Linked DNA regions of Homo sapiens: all the other regions are linked to region 3. Evidence: promoter capture Hi-C in 16 types of primary human blood cells and fetal thymus (Javierre and others, 2016). All regions are on one chromosome and are shown on one strand. The core of a region is centred on a gene start or on the middle of the fragment in contact, and the rest is flanking DNA. Distances in the headings are between cores, read along the strand shown. Region 1 holds the start of RPLP0 (ribosomal protein lateral stalk subunit P0). Region 2 holds the start of SPPL3 (signal peptide peptidase like 3). Region 3 has its middle 2.9 kb from the start of POP5. Region 4 holds the start of OASL (2'-5'-oligoadenylate synthetase like). Region 5 holds the start of PLA2G1B (phospholipase A2 group IB).

Region 1 (2,700 bases), core at 73-2,572, 380 kb after region 3:
TTGATGGAGGTGAATTATTCTATGGATGTTTGTTGGCTAGTTTTCTAGGAAGAGGGAATGGCTAATGCAAAAGCCCCCAAGTAAAGCCTGCTCTGGAAAAGCAGCAGAGCATCATCTGGGTAGAAAGCAAGTAAGTGAGGAGGAAAACATCTGAGATGATCAGAGTGGGCGTGAGGGACAGATAGGTAAGGGCCTTGTAGGTACTTTAGGTTTTAGATTTTTACTCTGTAGGAAACGGAAAGTTTTAAGCAGATAAGGAGATGAGCTGACTTAGGTTTTTTTTTTTTTTTTTTTTTTTTTGAGATGGAGTCCCTCTCTGTCACCCAGGCTAGAGTGCAATGGTGTGATCTTAGCTCACTGCAGAGCTCACAGCTCCCGGGTTCAAGCGATTCTTCTGCCTCGGCCTCCTGAGTAGCTGGGATTACGGGCATGCGCCACCCCACCTGGCTAATTTTTGTATTTTTAGTAGAGACGGGGTTTTGCCATGTTGGCCAGGCTAGTCTCGAACTCCTGACCTCAGGTGATCCACCCGCCTCGTCCTCCCGAAGTGCTGGGAGTATAGGCGTGAGCCACCGCGCCCGGCCAGGTTTTAAAGGATCCCTCTGTTTTGGTAGGCGGAAAAACTAGAGAAGACGAGAGACCATTCTGAGGCCGGGCGCGGCGGGTCACGCCTGTAATCCCAGCACTTTGGGAGGCCGAGGCGGGCAGATCACGAGGTCAGGAGATCGAGACCATCCTGGAGAACATGATGAAACCCCGTCTCTACTAAAAATACAAAAAAAAAATTAGCCGAGCACGGTGGCGGGCGCCTGTAGTCCCAGCTACTCCGGAGGCTGAGGCAGGAGAATGGCGTGAACCCGGGAGGCGGAGCTTGCAGTCAGCCGAGATGGCGCCACTGCGCTCCAGCCTGGGCGACAGAGCGACACTCCGTCTCAAAAAAAAAAAAAAAAAGAGAAACCATTCTGTTTCTAAGCATGTGCAATTATGTCTCAGCTCCACGTCATACCTTTTAGTTTGCTGAGCTCGCCAGGTGGCACAGGGAACCGGGACTCCGAATTCGCAGCTCCAGCTCCAGCTCCAGCCCAGCAGGTGGCAGCAGCTCAGAGCAAGCTCCTCCAACGCGAGGCAGCGCCTTCCTTCGCGACCCTACTTAAAGGCGGCTTTCCGTTGGCTGGAGTGGCAGCGATATTATCCAATGGTTGCCTGTATTCGTTCAGCTTTGTCTGACGGGCGATGGCGCAGCCAATAGACAGGAGCGCTATCCGCGGTTTCTGATTGGCTACTTTGTTCGCATTATAAAAGGCACGCGCGGGCGCGAGGCCCTTCTCTCGCCAGGCGTCCTCGTGGAAGGTTCGTGTGCTAGTTAGATGGGCGCCAGGGGTCGCCGGCGGGAAGCATGGAGGGGTCTTTGGGGGCCTTTGGGAACATGGAGTCCTATTCTGTTCCGCCTGGGGCCTCGGTGGCGGCTTGCACGCCCCGAGATGACGGCCGCTGCCCTAGGCAGGGCCGGCGGGCGATTGCGCGTGTCCTGCTCCTCTTAGGCCCGGGACCGCGGGATGGGTGTCGGCGTGACCAGGCCTGAGCTCCCTGTCTCTCCTCAGTGACATCGTCTTTAAACCCTGCGTGGCAATCCCTGACGCACCGCCGTGATGCCCAGGGAAGACAGGGCGACCTGGAAGTCCAACTACTTCCTTAAGATCATCGTAAGTGCAGGGTGGGTCGCCTCTGCTCTTCATGTTGCCCCAGCGCAAATAGGGACAGTCAGCTGCTATGTGCTGAGGGTCTACTCACACCGGCTACTGAATTAGGCCATTTTTGGGAAAATACTGTTTAGTTAACAATTTCCTGAGATAGGTCCCTTCTGTTGCAGATAAACGGGCTCAGGCAAGTTAAGTGGGTCCTAAGATGACAGCATTCGTATCCAGGTCTGTCTGGCTTCTAAAAGAGCGCGCTTTATACTTTTTTTTTTTTAAACGGAGTCTCGCTCTGTTGTCCAGGCTGGAGTGCAGTGGCTTGATCTTGGCTTACTGCAACCTCCGCTTCCCAGGTTCAAGCGATTCTCCTGCTTCAGCCTCCCGAGTAGCTGGGATTACAGGGGCGCGACACCACACCCAGCTAATTTTTGTATTTTCAATAGAGACAGGGATTCACCATGTTGGCCAGGATGGTCTCGATCTCTTGACTTCATGATCCACCTTCCTCGGCCTCCCTAAGTGCTAGGATTACAGGTGTGAGCCACCGCGCCCGGCCGCACATTACAGTTTTACTCCATTTTTGAGAAGGTCTGAGGTCAGGAATGACTCATTGTAAGGAAGCAAGCTGTTGCATATTTAGGACCTGTCAGCCAAGAAACTTAAGTGTCCAATGACTTTTGGATGGCCTTTGAGGTGGGTCTCCCTTGCCCAGAAATGCTGACTGTACTGCGCTTAAGCAATTAGGCAGCATTGTAGAGCATAGCTTGTATTACATTTTCCCACACTTAGAAGGTTTTCAGACACAAAACCCAAAGGAATTGTGTAACAATCCGGATAAACACGCCTAGATTGTTTTTACAAATAATAATGTTGCTATATTTGCTTAACGTGGTGCTTTTAATGCTGTGAATCTAGCCCTCCTCTTGACCAACTTACTTGGAACATTCCTTTTTTATCCTGTTAACCATTTTAGTGAATCAGAAGCATGCCTGGTAATTGGGAAAAA
Region 2 (2,700 bases), core at 48-2,547, 320 kb before region 3:
CTGTTGCCCAGGCTGGAGTGCAGTGGCGCAATCTCGGCTCACTGCAAGCTCTGCCTCCGGGGTTCACGCCATTCTCCTGCCTCAACCTCCTGAGTAGCTGGGATTACAGGCGTCCACCACCACGCCCGGCTAATTTTTTGTATTTTTAGTAGAGACAGGGTTTCACCGTGTTAACCAGGATGGTCCCGATCTCCTGACCTCATGATCCACCCACCTCGGCCTCCCAAAGTGCTGGGACTACAGGCGTGAGCCACCGCGCCCGGCCAAAAGAATGACTTTTCTTTGATAAGCCTCTCACCCTTTCAGACGGCCTCATCCACTCCTGGGGAAGCATTCCGCAGTACCTGGGGCCTCAATTAATCTCTCTCTTCTCTCTCCATCTAAGCTCCAGATTCACTTTGTTGGTCTCTGGTCTAGCTCTACCGTGTTTATTTCTGTGCCGGTTTCCAGACCTCCAAATGGACGGTTTCCTGAGCCTTCTGCCCTTGCTGTTCCCTCTGCCAGGAACTCTTTTCCTGTGGATCTTTGCAAGGCCAGCTCTCTGTCATCATTCAATATCAGCTCAAATGTCACCTCCTAAGCGAGGCCTTCCTTGACCACCCTATCTAAAGTAACCCACACCTCTGCTCACTCTCTGTCCCCTCACCTTGTGTTACAAAATGTGTTTTTGTAAAACTTAGCAGCATCTGAAATTATCTTATTTGTGGGCTTGGACTATGTCTCTTCCTTTAGAATGTAAGCTCTAGGAAGGCAGAGTGAGTTGACACATGGTTGGCACCCAACAAATATCTGTTGATTGATTCTGTGAAGGCAAGCGTGGGGTATTCGACTTGGTGCCGGGCCTGGGCGCAATAAAGGTTGGCTGCCTGGAATATTTGCTACCTGAATGAATGAACCAAGGAACATACGAACGAAGGAATGCAGCCCTCTGCCTGTTGACTGACAGGTTGACTGACAGTTGGGGGGCCCGTGGCCAGCAGACTGTTGACTGACGGTTGACAGCTGAGTGGCAGCCAACAGACGCGCATCGGGGTTCCCGATTGGCTGGTGCAGCAGCCCCTCGGAGAGGGGCGGAAGAGGGTACCCGAGGCGACATCTCCGCGTGGGGAGGGGGGCGGCACCAGGCAGCGGGAGGCGGCCCAACTGCTCTGGCTGTGCGAGCAGCAGCCGCCTAGAACCCAGGAGCCGACGTCTCTGCGCATGGGCCCGGCTCGAGGGGCGGGGCGCGCATCACGTGAGCGTGTTTTGGGCACGTGACCCGCGCGGGGCCAAGGCTCGCCCCCGCCCCCGCCCCTCCTCCCCTCGGCGGGTGTGATCGAGTGGCCTCGCCTCATCGCCTAGCGCCCCCCTCAGTCGCCGCCGCCTCCGCCCGCCGGCCATGTCCCCCGGCCGCCGCCGCCGCCGCCCGAGCGCGGCGCTCCCGCGGCCCCGCGCGCAGTGAGCGCGGGCCCGTCTTGCCGTTCGCCCGCCCCAGGGCCCCCTTGTTCTCCGCGCCGCCGCCGCCGCCATGTTGGGTTTGGAGCTGCAGCGGAGCCGCCGCCGCCGCCGCGGGTGAGGGAGGCCGAGAGCGGAGCCCGCCCCGCCCCGGGGCCCAGGGAGCGGGGCCGCTTCGGAGCCCGGCCTCTCCCCGCCAGCCGCCTTCCCGGCCCGCCGTGCAGCCAGCGAGCCAGCGAGCGAGCAAGCAAGCAAGCACCGGACCCCGGCCGCGCCTTCAGCTACGGCCCGAGCGAGCCCGCCGCCGCCGGGCCCGGCCACAGCCTGCAGCGGAGCCCACGAGAGGCAGCGCCATGGCGGAGCAGACCTACTCGTGGTGAGTGCGGGGCTCCGGGAGGCCGGGAGGCGGCAAGGGTGGGGGTCGGGGCGCCGGCGCGGCCCGCCGAGGGGAAGAGGAGGAAGAACAGGTGCGTGTCGTGGGGGGGGGGCGCGGGTTGGGGTGCACGCCCCCCTCTTCCCCACCGGAGGGGGCGGCTGGCGCGCACGGAGGGCGGTGAGTGGCCGGGGACCTGGCGTCCGAGAAGGGGAATGGAGGAGGAGGCAGCGGCGGATGTCATCTGGCTATGGGCGGAGCAGGTGATGGAGAAGGGGAGCATGACCCCGGGGGTGGGAATCCCACGGATGGGAAGTTGAATCCGACAGGCACCCCGGAACTGACTCGTGGGGGTGTTTCCTGGGCAGGAGGACTCGAAGGGGTGGAGAGAGGCAGGCCAGGGCAAAGGTGGGCCGCTGGGCTGAGAGGAAGCTCTAGTGAGAACAGGTGATAGAGGCAGAACTTCTAAGTTGGGAGAGTGGAGCGGCCGCCGCTTGGCTCTGGGACAGGGAGCGCAGGGAGAGTTGGTGAGGTGGGCAGAGGCCCGGGAGTGAGGGGAGGAAAACTGCGGGGGTAGAGTCCACGAACCTTGGAGGGGAGTCACTGGTGAAGAGGTTGGAAGAGGAGCCTGAAGAACCTGTTTCCTTTTCCTTCTGGAAAAGGAATTCGTTGGTGACAGTGGGGCATGGGCAGAGTCTTTGTAAGGGTTGGTACTATTATTTTCAGAGGAATGGCGCCCAGGGCCAAGTGTGGAGGTGGAGGACCTGCAAGTTAAGTTCATTTCTGTGGGGCTTTTAAAGTTAGTAAGTAGCTCGTTAAGGGCCGAGAAGCGAGAAGCTACTGTGTAGTTTATGGGGTGACAACCTACATATCCGGAGAAGGGAGTGCCAGGG
Region 3 (2,700 bases), core at 193-2,692:
GAGGCCCAGACAGGCAGATCACATGAGGCCAGGAGTTCGAGACCAGCCCGGCCAACATGGCAAAACCCCATCTCTGCTAAAAATACAAAAAATAGCCAGGTATAGTGGTGGGCACCTGTAGTCCCAGCTACTCAGGAGGCTGAGGCAGGAGAATCGCTTGAACCTAGGAGGCAGAGGTTGCGGTGAGCCAAGATGGAGCTACTGCCCTCAAGCCTGTGGGACAGAGTGAGATCCTGTCTCAGAAAAAAAAAAAAAAAAGGCCGGTCGCGGTGGCTCACGCCTGTAATCCTAGCACTTTGGGAGGCCAAGGTGGGTGGATCACGAGGTCAGGAGATGGAGAGCATCCTGGCTAACACGGTAAAACCCTGTCTCTACTAAAAATATAAAAAATTAGCCAGGCGAGGTGGCACGTGCCCGTAGTCCCAGCTACTGGGGAGGCTGAGCCAGAAGAATCGCTTGAACCCGGGAGGCAGAGGTTGCAGTGAGCTGAGATCGCGCCACTGCACTCCAGCCTAGGCGGCAGAGGGAGACTCCATCTCAAAAAAAAAAAAAAAAAAAAAAAAAGGAATCTGAGAAGTCCCAGGACGACTGTAATAATGCTAACAGTAATGACAACAGTGACCACCCCATTGATCCAGGGGATACCTGACTCGGCTAAGGGCACAGGCTGGGGTCAGACAGACGTGGATTGGGCTCTATTGTGCACCTGGGTGAGTTGTGATGTCGCACCTGGGTGAGCTCACCTCTCAGAGCCTCATCGGCTTCCTCACCTGGGGAGGATAATGGCTCTGCGGCCCGGCTGGGGAGAGAACCGAGGAGGGGTTGGGGTGTGAGCCCCCGCCGCTGCCCCTTCGCGGCCGGCATTCCGGCGGCGGGCACGGCCGGGGCACACCCCGTCGCCGTCCAGCGGATCTCCGGGCCCCGGGGAAGACGGCCGCTCCTCCTCCATGCCTCCGCGGGCGGATTCCCCCGCAGCCTCCCGCGCCGCGCAGCGGGGACCCGGGTGATTGCAAACAGCCGCCGGCCTCATTAGGAGACTTATAATTAGCGGCTGGCGCAGCCCGAGCCGGCGCGCGCTAATTACCGCGGGGAGCCCGCCCGCCCGGCCACCGCCGGCGTCTGCACCCTCCTGGGCCAGAAGGGGCCGGGCCTGGTCCAAGACTGGGAGGCCGCGGGCCGTGCCAATGTGCTTCCTCCCGGGGCTGTGCCTGTGGGGGAAAAGTAAATCATTTGTTCAGAACAGCGTTTACTTGCCGAGGGCGGTGGCACACGCCTGTAATCCCAACACTTTGGGAGGCCGAGGCGGGCGGATCACTTGAAGTCAGGAGTTTGAGACCAGCCTGTCCAACATGGTGAAATCTCTACTAAAAATACAAAATTAGCCGGGCGTCGTGGCAGGCGCCTTAATCCCAGCTACTCTGGAGGCTGAGGCAGGAGAATTGCTTGAACCCGGGAGGCAGAGGCTGCAGTGAGCCGACATGGCGTCACTGCACTCCAGCCTGGGCGACAGAGCAAAAAACTGTCTCAAAAAATTCCTGTTGTTTGGCTATATTTTCTTTTTTCTTTTCTTGTTTTTAAGACAGTCTTAAAAATCAGTCTCAAAAAACAAACAAAACAAAAAAAACAAAAACAAAAAAAGGGCTTACTATGCACTCGCTGTGCCAGGCATTTTGTCCACATGACCCCGCTTAAACTTCATATCCACCCACGAGGGAGGAACCATTGTTATCCCATTGCACAGATGAGGAAACTAAGATCTGAGACATGAATTAACCCTCCTGACAGCACCTGGCCGGGCCAGTAAATGACGGAGTAGCGAATCGAACCTCCATCTGTCGTCTCTCCATCTTATTACACTAAATGGACGAGTGAAATCCTGCACGGGAGAGCACCAACCGTGTTGACCAGAACAAGGAGTCAGCTGGCTTTGGGTTCGAATTCTGATCCTGCTCCTAACTGGATACGAGGCTTTGGTCTGAGCCCCAACTGCATCTATAAAATGGGCGAAGCATTGCTGTTGAAATGAAGGCTGGGAGGAGTGAAATTTCTATGAGGGGTGGAGCGCTCAGGAGTTGGGGGTGTCTTGCTCTCTCCGCGCACTGCGGACCTCTGGCGCCCCCTGTTGGCCAAAGGAGGATGTCGCAGACACTTTCTGGTGAAAAGTTGTTCTTGGGTGGGGAGTGCCGTCACTGTCACTGGTCCCTTGGCAGGGCCACGGCGTTCCCTCTTCCTATTCTTTTCTTCCCTACCTTCCCCCACATCCCTCCTTTAAGGTGGCCAAGAAGAGTGGGAGATGGGAAAATTCAGAACTCATTCCAGATCTTGCAAAAATAGGTTGTGAAAGCTGCCCCCATTACGGACCTCACAGGACCAGCCAAGGCCAAGACACTTCTACAAATAATCAGGGATGGGCATAAAGACTAAGCTACAAAGCCATGCATCAAAGTATTGGGTATAACAAGAAAATCTAGAAATAATGTAAACGTCTACCAAAGGGATACTGACCAACTTCACAATGGTACGTCCAAACAATGCAATACTGCACAGCTAAAAAACAGTATTGTCGCTGAAGAGCTGACATGAAAATATAGCCAAATGGCCAGGCGTGGTAGCTCACGCCTGTAATCCCAGCACTTTGGGAGGCCGAGGTGGGTGGATCACCTGAGGTCAGGAGTTCAAGACCAGCCTGGCCAACATGGG
Region 4 (2,700 bases), core at 160-2,659, 450 kb before region 3:
CACGCCTGTAATCCCAGCACTTTGGGAGGCCGAGGAGGGCAGATCAGGAGTTCAAGACCAGCCTGGGCAACATGGTGAAACACTGTCCCTACTAAAAATACAAAAAGTTAGCCAGGCGCGGTGGCGGGCTCCTGTAATCCCAGCTCCTTGGGAGGCTGAGGCACAAGAATCGCCTGAACCTGGGAGGCAGAGGTTGCAGTGAGCCGAGATTGTGTCACTGAACTCCAGCCTGGGCGAGACAGTGAGACTCCATCTCAAAAATAAACAAATAAATAAAAATAAAATTAAAATGTGGAAGTTGCCAGAGTAAAAACATTTAAACGCTGGCTGAAATCACCAAGGGAGTAAGTCTAGAACAAGAAGAGAAAAGGACCCAGGACTAAGCCCTGGAGCACTTAATATTATTCAGAGTTTGGGAAGTTGCAGGTGTCCAGCTATGTTGCCCAGGCTGGTCTTGAACTCCTGGCCTCAAGTGATCCTCTCACCTTGGCCTCCCAAAGTGCTGGGACTACAAGCATGAGCCACCATGCCCAGCCCGGATCCCCAGTCTTTAAGATTCCTCTCAAGCAGGTGTCTGCTAACACCAAATGAAACTCATCTGCCGGCTTCATGTTTTCATGCTTTTTTCCTACTTAACTCATCGCACTGGACTTTTGCAGTCTCTTTTTTCTGTGTCTCCTCCACCGTTCTGGGAGTCCCCTTGGAACAGGAACCTCATCTTATTTTGTCTTCTTGGCTCAATGCATGAACTTCTTGGTTCAGTGCGTGAATCATAATACCTGTTAAACCCACTCTATGGGCCGGGCGCGGTGGCTCACGCTGTAATCCTAGCACTGTGGGAGGCCGAGGTGGGCGGATCATTTGAGGTCAGGAGTTTGAGACCAGCCTGACCAAAATGGTGAGACCCCCGTCTCTACTAAAAATACAAAAAAAAAATTAGCCGGGCGTGGTGGCACATGTCTGTAGTCCCAGCTACTAGGGAGGCTGAGGCAGGAGAATCGCTTGAACCCGTGAGGCAGAGGTTGTAGTGAGCTGAGATTGCACCACTGCACTCCAGCCTGGGCAACAGAGCAAGACCCGGCCAAAAAAAAAAAAAAACAAAAAAACAAAAAAACCCACTCTATGAATAGTGAGGGTCAAAGAGGTTAGAGTCTGGCACAGGTAGACTAGAATTCCCAGTCTGTTCTCTTGGGCTCCAGATTCTCACTCCACCACCTGAACACTAGTGAGTCCCTTCCGTTCCCAAGCCTCAATTTCCTTAGACAGATGTAAGCAGTTGAATTGACTAACAACTATCCAACCCCAACCTACTGGGCAAGTTGCCTCCTTTGGGGTCAAACACTATCCAACTTCAGTTTCCCAACGTCATAAAGGAGAACTCTAAAAGTTGAGAATCGAAACTGATGACAGATTGACTAGACGGCCAGCCTGTTAAGGTGGCCCCAGATATTCCAGCCTCAGCCCAGAGTCCTCCTGTGCCCCTACTGCAGCAAGGGTGTCTCCAAGAAGGGGGACCTGGAGTCAGCCCGTCACACCTGGTTTCCTCTCTGCTAGGGTCCCTCCTCCCACAGAGCACTGGAGGGCAGCTGAGGAGGAGCTACCTTAAAAAAGGAGGTGTGTGCCAGGGAGCTGGGTAGGAGCCTGGCTATATATCTGCCCAGCAGCGGTACTCTCGGGACAGAGATGGCACTGATGCAGGAACTGTATAGCACACCAGCCTCCAGGCTGGACTCCTTCGTGGCTCAGTGGCTGCAGCCCCACCGGGAGTGGAAGGAAGAGGTGCTAGACGCTGTGCGGACCGTGGAGGAGTTTCTGAGGCAGGAGCATTTCCAGGGGAAGCGTGGGCTGGACCAGGATGTGCGGGTGCTGAAGGTAGTCAAGGTAAGACTGGGCTCCTCCAGCCCCCACGCAAGACAAAACCCAGTATCAGAGTCCACGTCCCTGGGGATGCTGGGGACCCCTGTCCTCCTTATCCCTAGCCCATGCTGATGACATCTCAGAATACCCCATCCCACCTAGCTGTCTACACCCCACTGCACCACTGCCTTGAGTAGAATGAGTCTAGTAATAATAGCTCACATTTGGGGGCTCACTGGACTAACCTCTTAACATACACTATCTCTAATTCTTGCACTCTGTGAGATAGGTACTATTCTTTGCCCAGTTTACAGATTAGCAAATGGAGGCTCAGAACCAATACAATGCGAGGTCCTTGGTTGGATCCTAGTGTGAATGAACCATCTGTAAAATATAGTTTGGGGACAACTGGCCTAGATATCAGATAGTACATATATCTGATATGGGAAATCATTGTTGATTTTGTTAGGTGTAACAGTAGTTTTGTGGTTATCAGAAGGTTGTCTTTTGTTTGGACACGAACACTGAAGTATTTTAGGGACAAAGTTCCTTGGTGCCTATAATTTACTTTAACGTGGCTTAGATTAAGCACATGTAGCCAGGAATTTAGACTTGTTGAATCAACTAGTTGGGTATATGAGTGTTAGTTGTATCATCTATTTTTCTATGTGTTTTAACTTTTTGATAATAAAATGACTTTTTTTTTTTTTAGAGACAGGGTCTCGCTCTGTCACCCAGGCTGGAGTGCAGTGGCACAATCACCACTCACTGTAGCCTCAATCTCCCTGAGCTCAGGTGATCCTCAGCCTCCTAAATAGCTTGGGATTACAGGCATGCACCACC
Region 5 (2,700 bases), core at 65-2,564, 260 kb after region 3:
GAGGCAGGAGAATGGCATGAACCTGGGAGGCAGAGCTTGCAGTGAGCCAAGATCGCGCCATTGCACTCCAGCCTAGGCAACAGAGCAAGACTCCGTCTCAAAAAATATATATAAATAAATAGATATGTGATGTGACAGGTTTTTTTTTGAGATGGAGTTTTGCTCTTGTTCCCTAGGCTGGAGTGCAATGGCGTGATCTCAGCTCACCGCAACCTCCGCCTCCAGGGTTCAAGCCATTCTCCTGCCTCGGCCTCCGGAGTAGCTGGGATTACAGGCATAAGCCACCATGCCTGGCTAATTTTGTGTTTTTAGTAGAGACAGGGTTATTCCATGTTGGTCAGGCTGGTCTCGAACTCTCCACCTCAGGTGATCTGCCAGCCTCAGCCTCCCAAAGTGCTGGGATTACAGGCATGAGCCACCGTGCCTGGCCTCTGATATGACAGTTCTAATGCCCTTTAGTATTCTATAATTCAGACTCAGGCCTTTGGAATCCAAAGCCCAGGTTTTTCTCACAAACCCACACTGCAGAGCGGAGTGGTGGAAAAAAATAAAACCTCTGCCTTGGAATCAGACAGATCTAAACTGGAGCCCTATTTTGTCATTTGCCAACTGTGTGACCTTGGGCAAGTTACCGCAACTCTCTGAACCTGTCTCTTTATCTGCAAGGTGCACGACTGATGGGACTATTCAACCAGACCCAGTGCACAGATTCAGGCACTTGATAAGACATTGAGGCTGCAGGCAGCGATCTTTTTTCTTTCTTTCTTTTTTTTTTTTTTTTTTTGAAATAGGGTCTCACTCTGCTGCAGAGGCTCAATCACTGTTCATTGCAGCCTTGACCTCCCTGGCTCAAGAGATCCTCCCATCTCAGCCTCCTGAGTTGCTGGGATCACAGGTGCAATCCACCACCACACCTGGTTAACATTTTTTTTTTTAGAGATGAGGTCTCTCTATGTTGCCCAGGCTGCACTTCCTTCTTGTCTCCCTTATCCCAGCGTCCGACTGAACTGACGGCTTTGCTTTCCCCAACCAGCCCGTGAAGCTGGGCTGAGTACAAAGTGGTGGGTATGAGGGTCAAGATTGTAAGATCTGAAAACTCCAGAAACCATCCCTTTGGTTAACAGTTGCTAAGGACAAATGCATAACATATTTTCCAGTGATCCCATGCTGGCAAATCGTCAGGGTCATTCCTGCAACAGACAGATTCAAGGCCAGCCCCAAACTCAGCCAAGAGCAAAGCAAACACTCCAGCCTTATCTGGGCAGGGTTGTGTGGAGACTGACTATAAGACTATACCTGAGACTGGTCATCTCAGTTCTTTTCTCACCTTGACTGCAAGATGAAACTCCTTGTGCTAGCTGTGCTGCTCACAGGTAGGCAAGTCTCCCCGGCTCCACCCGCCTTTCTCTCCCAAGTGAGCTAAGATCTCACTCCTCTGGAATGGGGGCCACAGGCCACAGCAAACAGGGATGGCCAGCCCCGCAGTCTCAATTCGAGGTTCCCAGTGGGGCTTAAGGGCTCCTCTATTGGGGTTCCCTCAAGGCTGGCACTTTTTCAACCTGCAAGTCTGAACTCAGATTGCCTGAGCTAAGAAAGCTTGCCTTTATTTTCTTTTTTCCAGACAGGGTCTTGCTCTATCACCCAGGCTGGAGTTCAGTGGCATGATCATAGCTCACCACAGCTTCCAACTCGTGGGCTCAAGTGATCCTCCCACCTTACTCAACTAAGTAGTTAGGCCAATCTCCCATTTATTTTATTTTATTTTAATTTTTATTTTTATTTTACTTTATTTTATTTTTGAGACGGGGCTCACTCTGTCGCCCAGGCTGGAGTGCGGTGGCGTGATCTCAGATCACTACAACCTCCATCTCCTGGGTTCAAATAATTCTCTTGCCTCAGCCTCTCAAGTAGCTGGGACTTGTAGCTCTCAAGTAGCTGGCACACACCACCATGCCCAGCTAATTTTTTGTGTGTTTTTTTTGGTAGAGACAGGTTTTCACCATGTTGGCCAGGCTGGGTGACCTCCCTTTTAGATTCTCCTCATCCTGCTCTATTCTTCCCCTTTCTAATGCAGTATCCAGTTTCCTTACTTATCACATTTATTATTATTCTTATTATTATTGAGACAGAGTCTTGCTTTGTCGCCAAGGCTGGAGTACAGTGGTGCGATCTCGGCTCACTGCAAGCTCCACCTGCTGGGTTCACGCCATTCTCCCGCCTCAGCCTCCCCAGTAGCTGGGACTAAAGGCGCCTGCCACCACGCCCCGCTAATTTTTTTGTATTTTTAATAAAGACGGGGTTTCATCGTGTTAGCCAGGATGGTCTCGATCTCATGACCTTGTGATCCGCCTGCCTCGGCCTCCCAAAGTGCTGGGATTACAGGCATGAGCCACCGTGCCCGGCCTTATCACATTTATTATTTATTGTTTTTCTCTCCCACTAGGTTGTAAGCTCCATGAGGTTAGAGATTATTATTATTATTATTATTATTATTATTATTATTATTATTATTATATCTGTTCACTGCTGTATCTCTAGCTCCTAGGACAGAGCCTGGCACATAGTAAGTGCTCAATAAATATTCACTGGATAAACAGTGCAGATAGTTTAAAACTATCTGACCTAGGGAGGCTGAGGCAGGAGAATGGCGTGAACCCGGGAAGCAGAGTTTGCAGTGAGCTGAAATCGTGTCACTGCACT

The links. Contacts are between HindIII fragments. The CHiCAGO score rates a contact against its expected background, and 5 or more counts as called.
Region 1: a contact is called between the fragment with the promoter of RPLP0 here and a fragment that was not itself captured in region 3, in 1 of 17 cell types (total CD8 T cells). The highest score is 5.5, in total CD8 T cells.
Region 2: the fragment with the promoter of SPPL3 here is called in contact with a fragment that was not itself captured in region 3 in 8 of 17 cell types (M2 macrophages, erythroblasts, megakaryocytes and 5 more); the score reaches 8.7 in M2 macrophages.
Region 4: a contact is called between the fragment with the promoter of OASL here and a fragment that was not itself captured in region 3, in 6 of 17 cell types (endothelial precursors, M1 macrophages, erythroblasts and 3 more). The highest score is 7.8, in endothelial precursors.
Region 5: a contact is called between the fragment with the promoter of PLA2G1B here and a fragment that was not itself captured in region 3, in 4 of 17 cell types (M0 macrophages, M2 macrophages, erythroblasts and 1 more). The highest score is 6.5, in M0 macrophages.

The regions. Positions count from the first base shown.
Region 1 is chr12:120,199,733-120,202,432 of GRCh38, reverse strand. It overlaps RPLP0 (ribosomal protein lateral stalk subunit P0), which reads left to right and starts at 1,322. Exons shown (of 8, transcript NM_001002.4): 1 at 1,322-1,350; 2 at 1,602-1,703. The coding sequence starts at 1,650. PXN-AS1 (PXN antisense RNA 1) reads right to left here and starts at 1,142. Exons shown (of 4, transcript NR_038924.1): 1 at 1,007-1,142. RefSeq lists enhancers at 807-1,166, 1,567-1,636, 2,677-2,700. The HindIII fragment of the contact is 6,201 bases long and covers 1-2,700 here.
Region 2 is chr12:120,902,955-120,905,654 of GRCh38, reverse strand. It overlaps SPPL3 (signal peptide peptidase like 3), which reads left to right and starts at 1,297. Exons shown (of 11, transcript NM_139015.5): 1 at 1,297-1,810. The coding sequence starts at 1,788. XLOC_009911 (a long non-coding RNA gene) reads right to left here and starts at 960. Exons shown (of 2, transcript NR_131215.1): 1 at 883-960. RefSeq lists silencers at 1,098-1,457, 1,538-1,757, 1,898-1,947. The HindIII fragment of the contact is 11,636 bases long and covers 1-2,700 here.
Region 3 is chr12:120,582,993-120,585,692 of GRCh38, reverse strand. No RefSeq gene overlaps it. Among named protein-coding and RNA genes, the nearest start is that of POP5, 2.9 kb to the right of the region's middle. RefSeq lists silencers at 759-828, 859-1,228. The HindIII fragment of the contact is 5,644 bases long and covers 1-2,700 here.
Region 4 is chr12:121,037,955-121,040,654 of GRCh38, reverse strand. It overlaps OASL (2'-5'-oligoadenylate synthetase like), which reads left to right and starts at 1,409. Exons shown (of 6, transcript NM_003733.4): 1 at 1,409-1,881. The coding sequence starts at 1,684. RefSeq lists enhancers at 1,245-1,664, 1,244-1,743, 1,744-2,245. The HindIII fragment of the contact is 5,031 bases long and covers 1-2,700 here.
Region 5 is chr12:120,326,393-120,329,092 of GRCh38, reverse strand. It overlaps PLA2G1B (phospholipase A2 group IB), which reads left to right and starts at 1,314. Exons shown (of 4, transcript NM_000928.3): 1 at 1,314-1,373. The coding sequence starts at 1,340. The HindIII fragment of the contact is 6,320 bases long and covers 1-1,598 here.